2 separate regions of the Homo sapiens genome follow, and region 1 is linked to region 2. The links are contacts of gene promoters, found by promoter capture Hi-C in blood cells and fetal thymus (Javierre and others, 2016). All regions are on one chromosome and are shown on one strand. The core of a region is centred on a gene start or on the middle of the fragment in contact, and the rest is flanking DNA. Distances in the headings are between cores, read along the strand shown.

Region 1 (6,255 bases), core at 2,573-5,072, 280 kb after region 2:
CTCCACAGGTGGGGTGCCCACTGCTTCAACAGGGGCCAGAACAGTCTGCCCTCTTCCATAGCTGTAAACCTCTGCTTGGCCCAGCAGGAGTGAGGGTAGAGGGGAGTAGGGCTCAAGGTGCCCTCGCTACCTAGTAGATGGTAGGAGAGCATAACCAAAAGCCAAAGAGCTGTTTACATGACTGGGTTCTCCCTGTGGCCTTCTGAGATTGCAGGAGATGGAAAGGGGGAGACCGGATCCTAGGGGAACCCAATATTCAGGTTTTCCTGGGTTCCTGAGATGCAAGATTTCCAATTTTAAGACATGGGAAGTTGTAGGCAGACTGGGATGAGTTGGTCACCTGGGTCTTCCATAGCTCCCAGTCTGAGAAAATGAGACTCACCCAGTAATAAGCAGAAGATTTGGCTGGGTGAGGTGGCTCATGCCTGTAATCCCAGCACTTTGGGAGGCCGAGACAGGCAGATCACAAGGTCAGGAGTTTGAGACCAGCCTGGCCAAGATGGTGAAACCCCATCTCTACTAAAGATATAAAAATTAGCCGGGCGTGGTGGTGGGTGCCTGTAGTCCCAGCTACTCGGGAGGCTGAGGCAGGAAAATCACTTGAACCCGGGAAGCGGAGGTTGCAGTGAGCCGAGATCGTGCCACTGCACTCCAGCCTGAAGACAGAGCAAGGCTCCATCTTAAAAAAAAAAATGCAGAAGATACTATGGAATGGGCCAGGAGAAAAAGGAAGGATCAGGGATGGGAGAGACACAGTGAGCCACACAGTAGCTGGCATTCTGCATGGTGGGCCTGGGCAGCCTGGCTCTTCATTTGCATATGGGTCTTTCCCACCCCAGTCAAATCTGCTGGAGCCAATTCTGCTTCCTTCCAACAAAGATGCCCAGACACCTGGCGGTAGTGTGTTACTTCCTGCTCCCAGCTCCTCTAACACCCCTGGAGAGCTCCATGCCCACAGGTCTTACCTTCACCCACTTTCCCAGGCTCTTAGATCAAACATCAGGCACAGTGCAGGCAATGGGGCCATCCTCCCAAGTCCCAAAAGCCTTCTGTTTCCAGTAGAGATGGGAGAAGCCTGAACTAAGCAGGTTTCTCACTTCCTTATGGAGGAAGAAGAGCTAAGAGAGGTGACTGATTTTAGTACAAAGGGCACAGGGCACAGAAACATGCAGGAATACATTAGCTGCGTGCACTCCAGTGATACATAGCCTCTGTAAACCTGTTTCCTTATCCTGAAAATGGGGACATTGTTCCTATCTTGTGATTGTATTAAGGATCAAATGAGCAGCTGCTCAACAGAGGTTTCTGGAGAGGTCCTTCTCCACACAGACTTGGGAGGAGATGCTTGTCCTAGGTCCAAATCTCATCCAGGTTTCCCGATTTTTTCAGGTCTTCTGCTCAACTCAGGTACCAGCTGACACCCACCCAGTCCCTGGTGTTGCCTTCAGGAGCAGTGGCAAGATGGGAGCTGGTTGGGGAAGGGGATCCTAGCGCAGGGGGGAGGAGGAGAGAATGGAATGGCTGGACTTTGAGATGAGAAGACAGTTGGATGGGGAGGAGGCACCATTTGCTGGAACTGAAGGGTTCTCAGTAGGGGCTCGAGGCAGGATGTATCTGTGATATCTGGACCTCTGGAGTCCCTTAAGCACAAGGAGGCAAGTGTGTGGCAGTGAAGACATTCTGCCTTGGGCCCAAGCCCAAGACAGGTCTCCCTGAGCCCTGGGCAGACCATCCGACCTATGGTCATTGGAAGGACCCACCTCCTCCCTATCCCAGGCCTGTGTAAACGCCAGGAAGGCAGGTCCCTTTCTCCATGCAGGCCCTGACTGGGGCAGTCAGCACCATTAAGTTCTTCCTCTCTGAGGCTTTCCTGGGTCAACACTTCGAGGCTGTGTAGTTGGAGGGCAGGGAGCCTGAGCCAGGAGACGTCTTCCTGTTCAGGCTGATTCCCCCCACCTGACGCTGGTGCGGGGCCCACGTTGGCATATACTGTGGCCATGGAGAGATCATCCACTTTGAGGGTGAGTGCCTCCAGCAGAAACACAGGCCCAAGTCTGCGGAGAGGCTGCCCAGCCAAGCCACGCCCCACCAGTGAGCTGGCTACTCGGGGATAAAGACTGAAGTCCCAGGCTGGGGGTACGTTTCTCTGAAAATGGGGTTTGGGCACTCAGGGTCCCTGAGGTCTCAGGAAATGGGGGTGCGGGATCACAGGGCATAGGACCTAAGCCTGGCTCTGATCCGCACCCCTCTGGCGATCCCCGCAGGCAAGAACTCAGGAGGCTGTGGGCTCCTGGGAAGTTTCTGGGCTCCTGGAAAGGCATCGTATCCAAACAGGGGCAGCGCCCGCTGCTGCGCTCCTGCTGGCGCGTGCTGCGCAGAGTGAGCGAAGCGACGGACGCGGACCCACCATCCTATCACTCCATGCGCAGCAACTGTGTGCACTTTGCACTGTGTCTGCTCGTCCCAGGTCCCAGCCTGGACCCCCGGCAAATAGACGGGAGCTCCAGCAGGTCGGTGAGCGTGGCCCAGCTACCTGCACAGGACCCATCCCACCTCCTGAGCAGACTAGCCAAAGCGCCTTATAAACGCGCAACTGCAAAATCCAGGCCCTTCTCTTCCCACTCCCCACCCAGGCCAGTTTTCTCCAAATTCAAGATCCACTTTTCTCTGGCAGGCACAAAGCCACCGGAACCAAGCGGACCCACCCACTTGTCTAGGTTATCCCAACAGAACCTTCTCATTACCCCAATAGAACCTTACCCCAGTAGAATTACCCCCAATAGAACTTTTCTACTGAGCCAAGCTCCACCTTTCTGGGCCCCACTCCTTCCCAGGTAGGCCCGCCAATTCTGCCCATGGAGACTTCGGGATGCTAGTTACAGACCAAGACTCAGGCCTTAGGAACTCCTCCAGTCCCCATGCCCAGCTAAAAGACTCCAGCCACCTCAACTGATGCCCAACTGGATCCTACCTCTTCCCCCAGCCCAATTCACTACTTTCCATCGGATCCAAGCCTTCCTTCCTTGGGCCTAGGGGTCACTCGGGCTCGGGAGCTGAACTGGAGGGCTCACATGACTCAGGAGCCCTGGTGGTCACACCAGACCCTTCTCTTCCTTTTCAGGTGTCAATGGACGTGGACGTGTCCCCGGATTAAGCATGACCTTGGCCCTCCTGGGTGGACGTGGAGGCTTCAGAAAGATTCATTAAACTACTTTCCAAAGCTTAATTAGATGTTCACCGTCCTCTGTATCCTGTTTCCCATCTCTCTAAGCCCCCAAGGGCTCCTCGGAGCTCCCTGACCTTAATTCCTTAAATTCCGCCACCTCCAGGAAGCTCCTCGGCTTCCTGCTGCCAAGCCAGATTTTGTAGGAAAGGTGGGGCGGGAAAGGGAGCGTCCTTAGGTATCTGAGGCCGGTCCTCGGGTGCGGTGACCCCTTCCCGCTCTAGAACCCCCAGCCTGCGGGCACAGCCTTCTTTCCAGTTCCCGCTTTCCCTCCACGGCGTGGGTGAGCATCCGCGCGTGCGTCTGGGGAGAGCGGAGCCCCAGAGGCCCGTCCCGCCGAGGCCAGGTGGTCGGGGGTGGGGGCAGCTATTCCACATCCCCTGCAAGACGGTCCCAGCGTCCGTCCAGCAGACTCGCCCACCTTTAGATCTGGAGACGAGCCAAGTCGCTTTAAAGGGCAGAAGACGCCCTGAAGAGGGCATTTCCTAGGGATGGGCGGGGCCAGGCCCTGACGCACCGCCCCTGTCGCCTCCTCGCGGACACGCCCTCCGCTCGGCTGGCGCCGGTGCCTTTAAGACCTCAGCGCGCGGCCCTGATTGAGAAATCCGCGCGCAGCCTCCGCCGCTGCACACTGCAGCCTCTGCTGAACCCCTGCCGCGCCGCCGCCTTCGCCAGCCCGGACCGGACCGGCCCGCCTTCCCTTCCTCCGCTCCAGCCGGCCTCCGGCCCCGCAACCTCCTCCTCGGCGAAGTCTCCCTGGCCGCCCCATGTCGGCCGCCCCCGCCTACAGCGAAGACAAGGGCGGCTCCGCTGGCCCCGGGGAGCCCGAGTACGGCCACGACCCCGCGAGCGGCGGCATCTTCTCCTCCGACTACAAGCGGTGAGGGAGCCCGCCAGGAAGCTCGCGGGAGGGTTGGGGCCGGGGACCGGGCGAGGCGCGCGGGCACCATGGACAGCGCCCGGCCCCAGCGCCGGCCCCGCCCCGGCCGCGCCGACCGGAAGCCCGCCCGGCCCCCTCCTGCGGCCTGGAGCCCCGGCCCAGCGCGGGCAGCGCTGGCACCCCGGCTCCAGGGGCCGGCCTAGGACGCGGAGGGGGGCAGATAGGGGCTGGCGGGGGATGGGCCAGCTCAGTTTCGAGAGGAGAAACCCTCCGGTTCCAGGTGTTTCTCCGGTTTGCGGCGTTGCGTTAGGGGTTCCCTTCCTTTTTCGTGCTAGGCGGGTTGGCTTCCCAAAAATGTGGGGGAGGGGTCTGAGTCAGCGAACTTGAGCTTGAGCCTGGGGCCTCTTCAGGAAGGCGGGCCCTGGATGTACTTGCACAGCCTCCCAGCTTGGCCCTGCTGCAAATTCATTTCCCCTCCCTCTGGTCCCCATCTCCATCTGACCCTCACATCCCTGCTCCTGGCATTGCCCCTGTAGTTCAGCTCCACCTTCACACCCTCCCCCACCTTTGATTCGTTCGTTTGTTTCTTCATTTGTTTATTCGTAAATTCTGCAACAAGCATTTATGAAAAGCCAACTGTGTCGAGTCCTGAACTAGTCACGGAATACAACTGTGAACATGAGACCCTTCTTGTCCTCACGATGCTCTAGAGGGGAGCACAGATGAAGAAGCAGTCAGGGACAGTCGAGTGTAATGGGGGCAGTGGGAGCAGGGAGAGGACCTAGTCTCTGGCGCCGGAGAGAAGGAAGACAGGAGCGTGAGGTATGTTCCAGGCAGAGGAAAGGGCTTTCAGGAAGGTTGAGAGCCAGGCCACAATCTGTGTGAGCCACTGGACTGACCAGAAAAGAGGGTGGGGAGGACTCCTGAAGGATTCTAAGCAGGCGACATAATCAGATTTATATTTTAGAAGGACGTCAGGCTGCTGCATTGTGGAGAAGAGATTGGAGGTGGGCCAGATTGAACAAGAGACAAGGGAGGTGGGTCTTGAAGTTCACAGGCCTGGCATGATTGTGGCCTAGACCAGGGGAGAGGCAGAAGATTTGAGGCTGTGGAAGAGGTGGAAGCCTCAGACCTGATGATTAATTGGATATTGGGTGGGGGTTTAGAGGGACAGGGGGAGAAGATGAGGATTTTCACGCACGTCCATGTGAAGAGACCACCAAACAGGCTTTGAACAATAAAGCTTTTTAATCACTTGGGTGCAGGCCAGCTGAGTCCGAAAAAAGAGTCAGCGAAGGGAAATGGGGTGGGACCGTTTTACAGGATTTGGGTAGGTAGTGGAAAATTACAGTCAAAGGGGGTTGTTCTCTGGCGGTGGGGGGACACAAGGTGCTCAGTGGGGGAGCTTTTGAGCCAGGATGAGCCAGGAGAAGGAATTTCACAAGATAATGTCATCAGTTAAGGCAGGCACAGGCCATTTTCACTCTTCAGTTACTTCAGGCCATCTGGATGTATACGTGCAGGTCACAGGGGATATCATGGCTTAGCTTGGGCTCAGAGGCCTGACATTCCTGTCTTCTTTTATTAATAAGAAAAATAACATAAAATAGTGTTGAAGTGTTGGGGCAGCAAACATTTTGGCGGGGGGTGGTATGGAGAGATACTGCTTCTCCATAGCCTTGAAGGGCTGCTTCGAGCGGGATTGGGGTGGCGTGGGAACCTAGAGTGGGAGAGATTAAGCTGAAGGCAGATTCTGTGGTAAGGGATGATATTGTGGGGTTGTTAGAAGAAACATTTGTTGTATAGGATTATTGGTGATGGCCTGGATACGGTTTTGTATGAATTGAAAAACTAAATGGAATAAGAGAAGGAGAAAAACAGGTATTAAAGGACTAAGAATTGGGAGGACCCAGGACATCCAATTAGAGAGTGCCCAAGGAGGTTCAGCATAGCCCTGCCAGCAAAGATTATTTATTTACTTTAAGAGGGAGTTAAGACTGGCAGTTTGGGGATAGCACCAGGAGATATCAGCTGTAATGGTTTGGAGAAACAGTGTAAACCGGCAGTGTAAACAAGAGCAGGGCATGTATGAGTAGTTGAGTATGGTGAATAGGAGTATGACTAGTCAGAAGATAGTAGGGATGACAAGTTT
Region 2 (6,061 bases), core at 568-3,067:
TTTCACTCTTGTTGCCCAGGCTAGAGTGCAATGGCGCGATCTCGGCTCACTGCAATCTCTGCCTCTCGAATTCAAGTGATTCTCCTGTCTCTGCCTCCCGAATAGCTGGGATTACAGGTGCACGCCCGCTCGCTAATTTTTGTATTTTTAGTAGAGACAGGGTTTCATCATGTTGGCCAGGCTGATCTTGAACTCCTGACCTCAGGTGATCTGCCTGCCTCAGCCTCCCAAAGTACTGGGATAACAGGCATAAGCCACCGCGCCCAGCCTGACACTCTTATCTTTCAGGCTATTGCTCTTAGTATGCTTTATCAAATACCAAATATCAGACTTTCAATGTGTCTGGGATTGGCAAACTATATCAAATTCTCAAATCCAAGGAATGAGTTTTAAATAAATTCAGCTAATTAAAAATCATGTCTAGAATTCTAGTGGGATCACAGAAATCACTAAAAAGATGACCCATACCTAATCCAGATGGGCAGTAAAAATCATAAGGCAAGGAAAAGGTGCTACTCCATTTTTATGTTCTCATATGTTCTCCCACGACTCCCCACCCATACTCATGTAAACAAATATCAACTGTATTATTACTGAGAACGAAATTTAAATAGAATGTTAATCGACCCAAGCTTTACTTACCCCAAAGGTTTGAGGCAGCTGTACTGCTTAATGTTTAGGTTGTTTAAATCTGTGGGAGGAAAAAAACAAACTTGACTTTATTTAAGGAAACTCTCAAAAGGTGTTTGTAGGGGAGGGTGGCGCATAAGAGTCTTATTCAAGGAAAGAATTGGAGTAAAAGTGCTCTAAGGCCAGGCGCGGTGGCTCACCTCTGTAATCCCAACACTTTGGGAGGCCGAGGCGGGCAGATCACGAAGTCAAGAGATCGAGACCAGCCTGGCTAACACGGTGAAACCTCGTCTCTCCTAAAAATAGAAAAAATTAGCCAGGCGTGGTGGCATGTGCCTGTAGTCCCAGCTACTCGGGAGGCTGAGGCAGGAGAATCGCTTGAACTTGGGAGGCGGAGATCGCGCCACTGCACTCCAGCCTGGGCGACAGAGCGAGACTCCGTCTCAAAAAAAAAACAAAAAACAAACCAAAAAAACGCTCTAAAGACTTCCAAAGCTAATATTCCAAAGAGGGAACTGGTTCTCAAGAGCAAGAAGCTACAAGATTTGTCCTCTGGGCCTTCAAAAGCAAAATAGTTCAAGTATGAATACAAACTTCATAAAGTATGTATGTTCTTTTAGGGTAAGCCTTTCAGATTTGTACTTGAATACTGCTAATTTATTCACCACAAATAAAACCACAAAGAACTTTGGCTGCGGGCGACTAACCCTGGAAATAACCAACCAGAATGGGGTTTCGCTGCCCTGGGAGGTGAGCCCGGGGAACAGACGAAGATGCAGACTGAAAACAACTGCGTTTTCCAGTCCGTCCTCAAGGCACATCACAGCTTGCTTACCAAGGTTCTGGCAGATTTGCTCCCTTCCGAAGCACCTTATACCTCCAGAAGTGAGGGAAATTATGGGCCGTGAGAAGTAAACGGGCTTCGGTCTAGCAAAGAGTACAGATCACCGCACAGGGGGAGGACACCTCGCTGGCCACCCAGCTCGGCCGCCCCGCTCCCTCCTCCCGGGCGTCCGGGGCGACTCACCCGCCAAGGGCTATGTCAATCCAGCTCAGGCCGAACCCCGCCGGCGAGACACTGAGAAGCCCAGGAGAGGTGGCCTCTGGTCCACTACACCGTGGAACTCCAGACCACTCCAGTTCTCCAATGTAACCGAGCGCCTTCCTCTAAAATCCGACAACCACCTGACTTCCGCTTCCGGCGGGCTAAAGTTGAGGGTGCCTGTCAAGTCTCGCGATAACTAAGGCTCTCCGTGTGGATCGCTTTGCAACAGATCGCTTCTTCAAATGCTGGCACAACGCCCAGAGCTCGATGAGGTGTGGGCAAGTAGCTGTCTAAAGGTGGATGATGCCCTCCATGCACTTTCAGCCTGCCTGGTGGCTGGGCAGTCGAAAACGTCGCCGTCTATTAAGCTCCTTTGATTGGGAGCAGGTGACGGGTAGAGACGGAAGTTCTGGGAATCACCGGAGAAGGGAGGGAAGGGCTCCTTCCGGCCGCCTGCTCCCGGAGTCTTCGTGGGGAACGTGAGGTGAGAGCAGGCGGTGAAGAGTAGACACGACTGATGACTTCAGGGATGCTACACCTTTCTCTCCTGCCTGGGCAAGCCTCGGTAGTAAGATTTCCGTAGTCCGTTTTGTATGTGGTTTTGCAGAAACATACCCCCTCTCTGCTCCAGCTTCAGTCGTCAGTATCCAGCTACTTCCAAGAGTCTTGCCCATGTCTTGTGGGATGTTCAGCAAATGTATAAACACTTAATATCCCGACAAAGCTTGGCCTCTTCCCTCCCAAATTACTTCCCAGGCTATGCACCCGTTTTTGTTAATACAACCAACTTGGAAACTTTGATGTCAGATTTGATGCCCTTTCTTGCCTTTCCATGCTCCAATCACTTGCCAAGTCCTGTCGATTGTACCCCTACAGTAATTCTTGCATCTTCTTACCCACTGCCCCCACCTAATCAACGTTCTCATTACCATCCCCTGCACGGTGTCAGTGCAGTACCTTTCTCATTGATGTCCTGCCTCTAGCATCACTCTGCTACTAGCCTATCTTACATATACCTGCTATAGGTGTAGCCATCTTCAAGCACCACCGTGATCCAAAATAGCTGATCCAATGGCTCTCTGTTGCCTGTAGATTAAAGGTCAAGTTTATTAACTTGGATTCAAAACTTTTTTTATTTTCTGCTGTTCCCCTTCCATTCTCCCTCAGTCAGTGGTAAACCAGACCCTGTGAAGTACGTCATGCATAAATTATTACATTTTTATAGATTGCTCATGTCCCTTGCATGAAATACCTGTCTCTCCCCCTCATCTCCAAATGTTGAAATTCTTTCCATTATTTAAAGCTTTAGAAAGTGACATCTCTACCTAGAAATAATTTTTCTTTCTATTGAGAGTCCATCATATTTCTGGAATTTCATGTATTTAGTTATTACCACTTTCTAACTTCGAACTAAAATTATTTACTTGCAAGTCTTTCCCCCTATTAAACTGTAAACAGGCCTTTATCTAATGCATTTCTACATTCTGGAGTGTATAACATTGTGCTTTTTTTGTTTGTTTGTTTGTTTGTTTCTTTGACACAGGGTCTCATTCTGTTGCCCAGGCTGGAGTGCAGTGACGTGGTCATGGCATACTGCAGCCTCGACTTCCTGGGCTCAGGCGATCCTCTCAGCTCAGCCTCCGGAGAGCTGGGACTACAGGTGCACACCACCACCCTGCTAATTTTTTGTATTTTTTGTAGAGATGGAATTTTGCAGTATTGCCCAGTCTGGTCTCGAACTCTGGGCTCAAGCAGTCCACCCACCTCAGCCTCCCAAAGGGCTGGGATTACAGGCCTGAGCCGTGGAGCCCAGCCCCACATTGTGCTTTTTCCATGACGTTAGCACTGAATAAATGTTTGTGGAATGAATGATAGAACTATGAATATTCCAAGTAATGTTTTAGAAACATTAACCTAGCAAAAGTATATAGGATAGTATGGATGAGGGAATAGGATAGTCTTGGTGTTGGGTAGTAAAGGTAAGAGGTGTAACAACCAAGGTTACAATAATTGAATAAAAGGCCGGGTGCGGTGGCTCACGCCTGTAATCCCAGCACTTTGGGAGGTCGAGGCGGGTGGATCATGAGGTCAGGAGATCAAGACCATCCTGGCTAACACGGTGAAACCCTGTCTCTACTAAGTATACATAAAATTAGCTGGGCGTGGTGGCCGGCGCCTGTAGTCCTAGCTACTCGGGAGGCTGAGGCAGGAGAATGGCGTGAACCCAGGAGGCGGAGCTTGCAGTGAGCAGAGATTGCGCCACTGCACTCCAGCCTGGGTGACAGAGCAAGACTCCGTCTCAAAAAAAAAAAAAAATAATAATAATAATTGAATAGTACTATTCTGGAGCTCCAGTAGTGCAATTGGTTAGCGCGCTATAGTGCGCTAAATAGTAAATAGTACTATACTTAGTTACTGAGTGGATTACGAGAGAAAAAGATTGGTAGAAATCAGGGAAGGAGCTGGGTGCGGTGGCTTACTCCTGTAATCCCTGCACTTTGAGAGGCCGAGGCAGGCGGATCACTTGAGGTCAGGAGTTCAAGACCAGCCTGACCAACATGGTGAAATCCTGTCTCTACTAAAAAATCAAAAAAATTAGCCGGGCGTGGTCAGGGGCGCCTGTAATCCCAGCTACTCGGGAAGCTGAGGCAGGGAGGATTGCTTGAACTTGGGAGGCAGAGGTTGCAGTGAGCCGAGATTGCACCACTGCCCTCCAGCCTGGGCGACAGAGTGAGACTCCATCTAAAAAAAAAAAGAAAGAAAAGAAAGAAATCAGGAAAGGCTCCAATTCTTTAAGCCTGGGAAATTGGGGCTGAAAAGGAATATCCATAAGGTAAAGTGGCTTTAAGGGAAAAATGAACTCAGAGCCCAAATACATTTGTAAAATTTGAAACACTGGTGAAATATTCAAGAGAAAATTTCCAGGGAGTTGTTAGAAATACAAGACTAAATCTCAGGAAAGAGAGGCTCTACCCAGATATGTAAATGTGTGAGTAATTCATGAAGAAACAATAGTTGAAATCACTGGTGTACAGTTGCTCCCCGACAGGACTGTTTGACTTAACGATTGTTGTACTTTACAATGGTACCATGTGCATTCAGTGGCAGGGTACTTTGAATACCTATACAAACATTCTGTTTTTCACTTTCCGTACAGTAGTCAATAAATTATATGAGATATTCAACATTTTATTATAAAATAAGCTTTGTGTTAAATGAGCTTGCCCAACTATAGGCTAATGTAAGTGTTCTGAGCATGTTTAAGGTAGGCTAAGCTAAGCTATGATGTTTGGTAGATTAGGTGTACTAACTGCATTTTTGACTTAATGATGTTTTCAACTTGTGATGGGTTTATCTGGACATAACCCCGTCAAAAATCAAGGAGCAGCTGTATATGATCTTTTCAACAGGGAAAGTATTCATAGAGAAGAGAAGGCGACCAAGGCCTATCCCTCAGGAAATACCCATATTTAGGAGACAAGAACAGGAAATAGAAAACTTGAAGAGGGGCAGTGTGACAATTGAAAAACTAAGAAAAATGCTTCCTCACCTAGTATCGGGAATCAAGAAGGATATTTGGAAAAGGGGCTTCTTGTAGGCTAGTTTGGTTGTTTCCTTGTGACTATTATTGACATTATTTGTAAGTATTGAGGACTTACCCAGAAAAGAATATAGAGATTGGGCATCCCTAATCCCCAAATACAAAATACAAAATGTCCCCAAATCCAAAACTTTTTGAGTGCCAACATGACACTCAAAGGAAATGCTCATTGGAGCATTTTGGATTTCAGATTTTCATAGTAGGGATACTCAACTGGTATTTTCTTTCCTGTAAATTTGTGTGTGACACTTAGGGGCCTCTAGGCCTCTGAGAGTTTCTGTGAAGAACTCTAGGTATTCCAGCAGATTTTCAAATTTTCAAATGAAATTTTTTTCTGCCCACCAATGTCTTTTCATTCTCTGATATGTTATCGATTATTATGTCTCATTTTCTGACAACAGGAAATCTGTTTCATGAAGGGGAATTTTCTAGATAACTGACACTTAGACTTTAAGCATCAGAAATTTTTTATTGAAACCATTTTTGATGGAAATGTTTGCAAAATGTGGCTCTTACCTATCTGGTATAACCAGAATATATGGGCCATAATTTAATCTTTGCTGGCAACTAAAAGTCCCTGTTAAAGCATCAGTTATATTCTTCTGGATAGTAATATCCTTGGGCCTGTTGATGTGCATGAGAAAGGTTACATCATGAAATTTATAGTGTTTTTTTCTACTCATTGTAGACATTTTGTTTTACTTAAGCAGATATATTTTTTAAATTGTGGTAAAATATATGTAACATAAAAATTACCATTTTAACCATTTGTAAGTGCACAGGTC

What was found. The method cuts DNA at HindIII sites, captures the fragments that hold promoters and counts their contacts. A CHiCAGO score of 5 or more calls a contact.
Region 1: a contact is called between the fragment with the promoter of AP3B2 here and the fragment with the promoter of RAMAC in region 2, in 15 of 17 cell types (fetal thymus, monocytes, total CD8 T cells and 12 more). The highest score is 15.6, in fetal thymus.

What each region holds. Positions count from the first base shown.
Region 1 is chr15:82,707,442-82,713,696 of GRCh38, reverse strand. It overlaps AP3B2 (adaptor related protein complex 3 subunit beta 2), which reads left to right and starts at 3,822. Exons shown (of 27, transcript NM_001278512.2): 1 at 3,822-4,103. The coding sequence starts at 3,991. It also overlaps the pseudogene LOC338963. RefSeq lists silencers at 3,769-3,818, 4,039-4,298. The HindIII fragment of the contact is 2,125 bases long and covers 3,224-5,348 here.
Region 2 is chr15:82,981,966-82,988,026 of GRCh38, reverse strand. RAMAC (RNA guanine-7 methyltransferase activating subunit) reads right to left here and starts at 1,817. Exons shown (of 4, transcript NM_031452.4): 1 at 1,658-1,817; 2 at 643-691. It also overlaps a transcript of HOMER2 not described here. The HindIII fragment of the contact is 1,767 bases long and covers 635-2,401 here.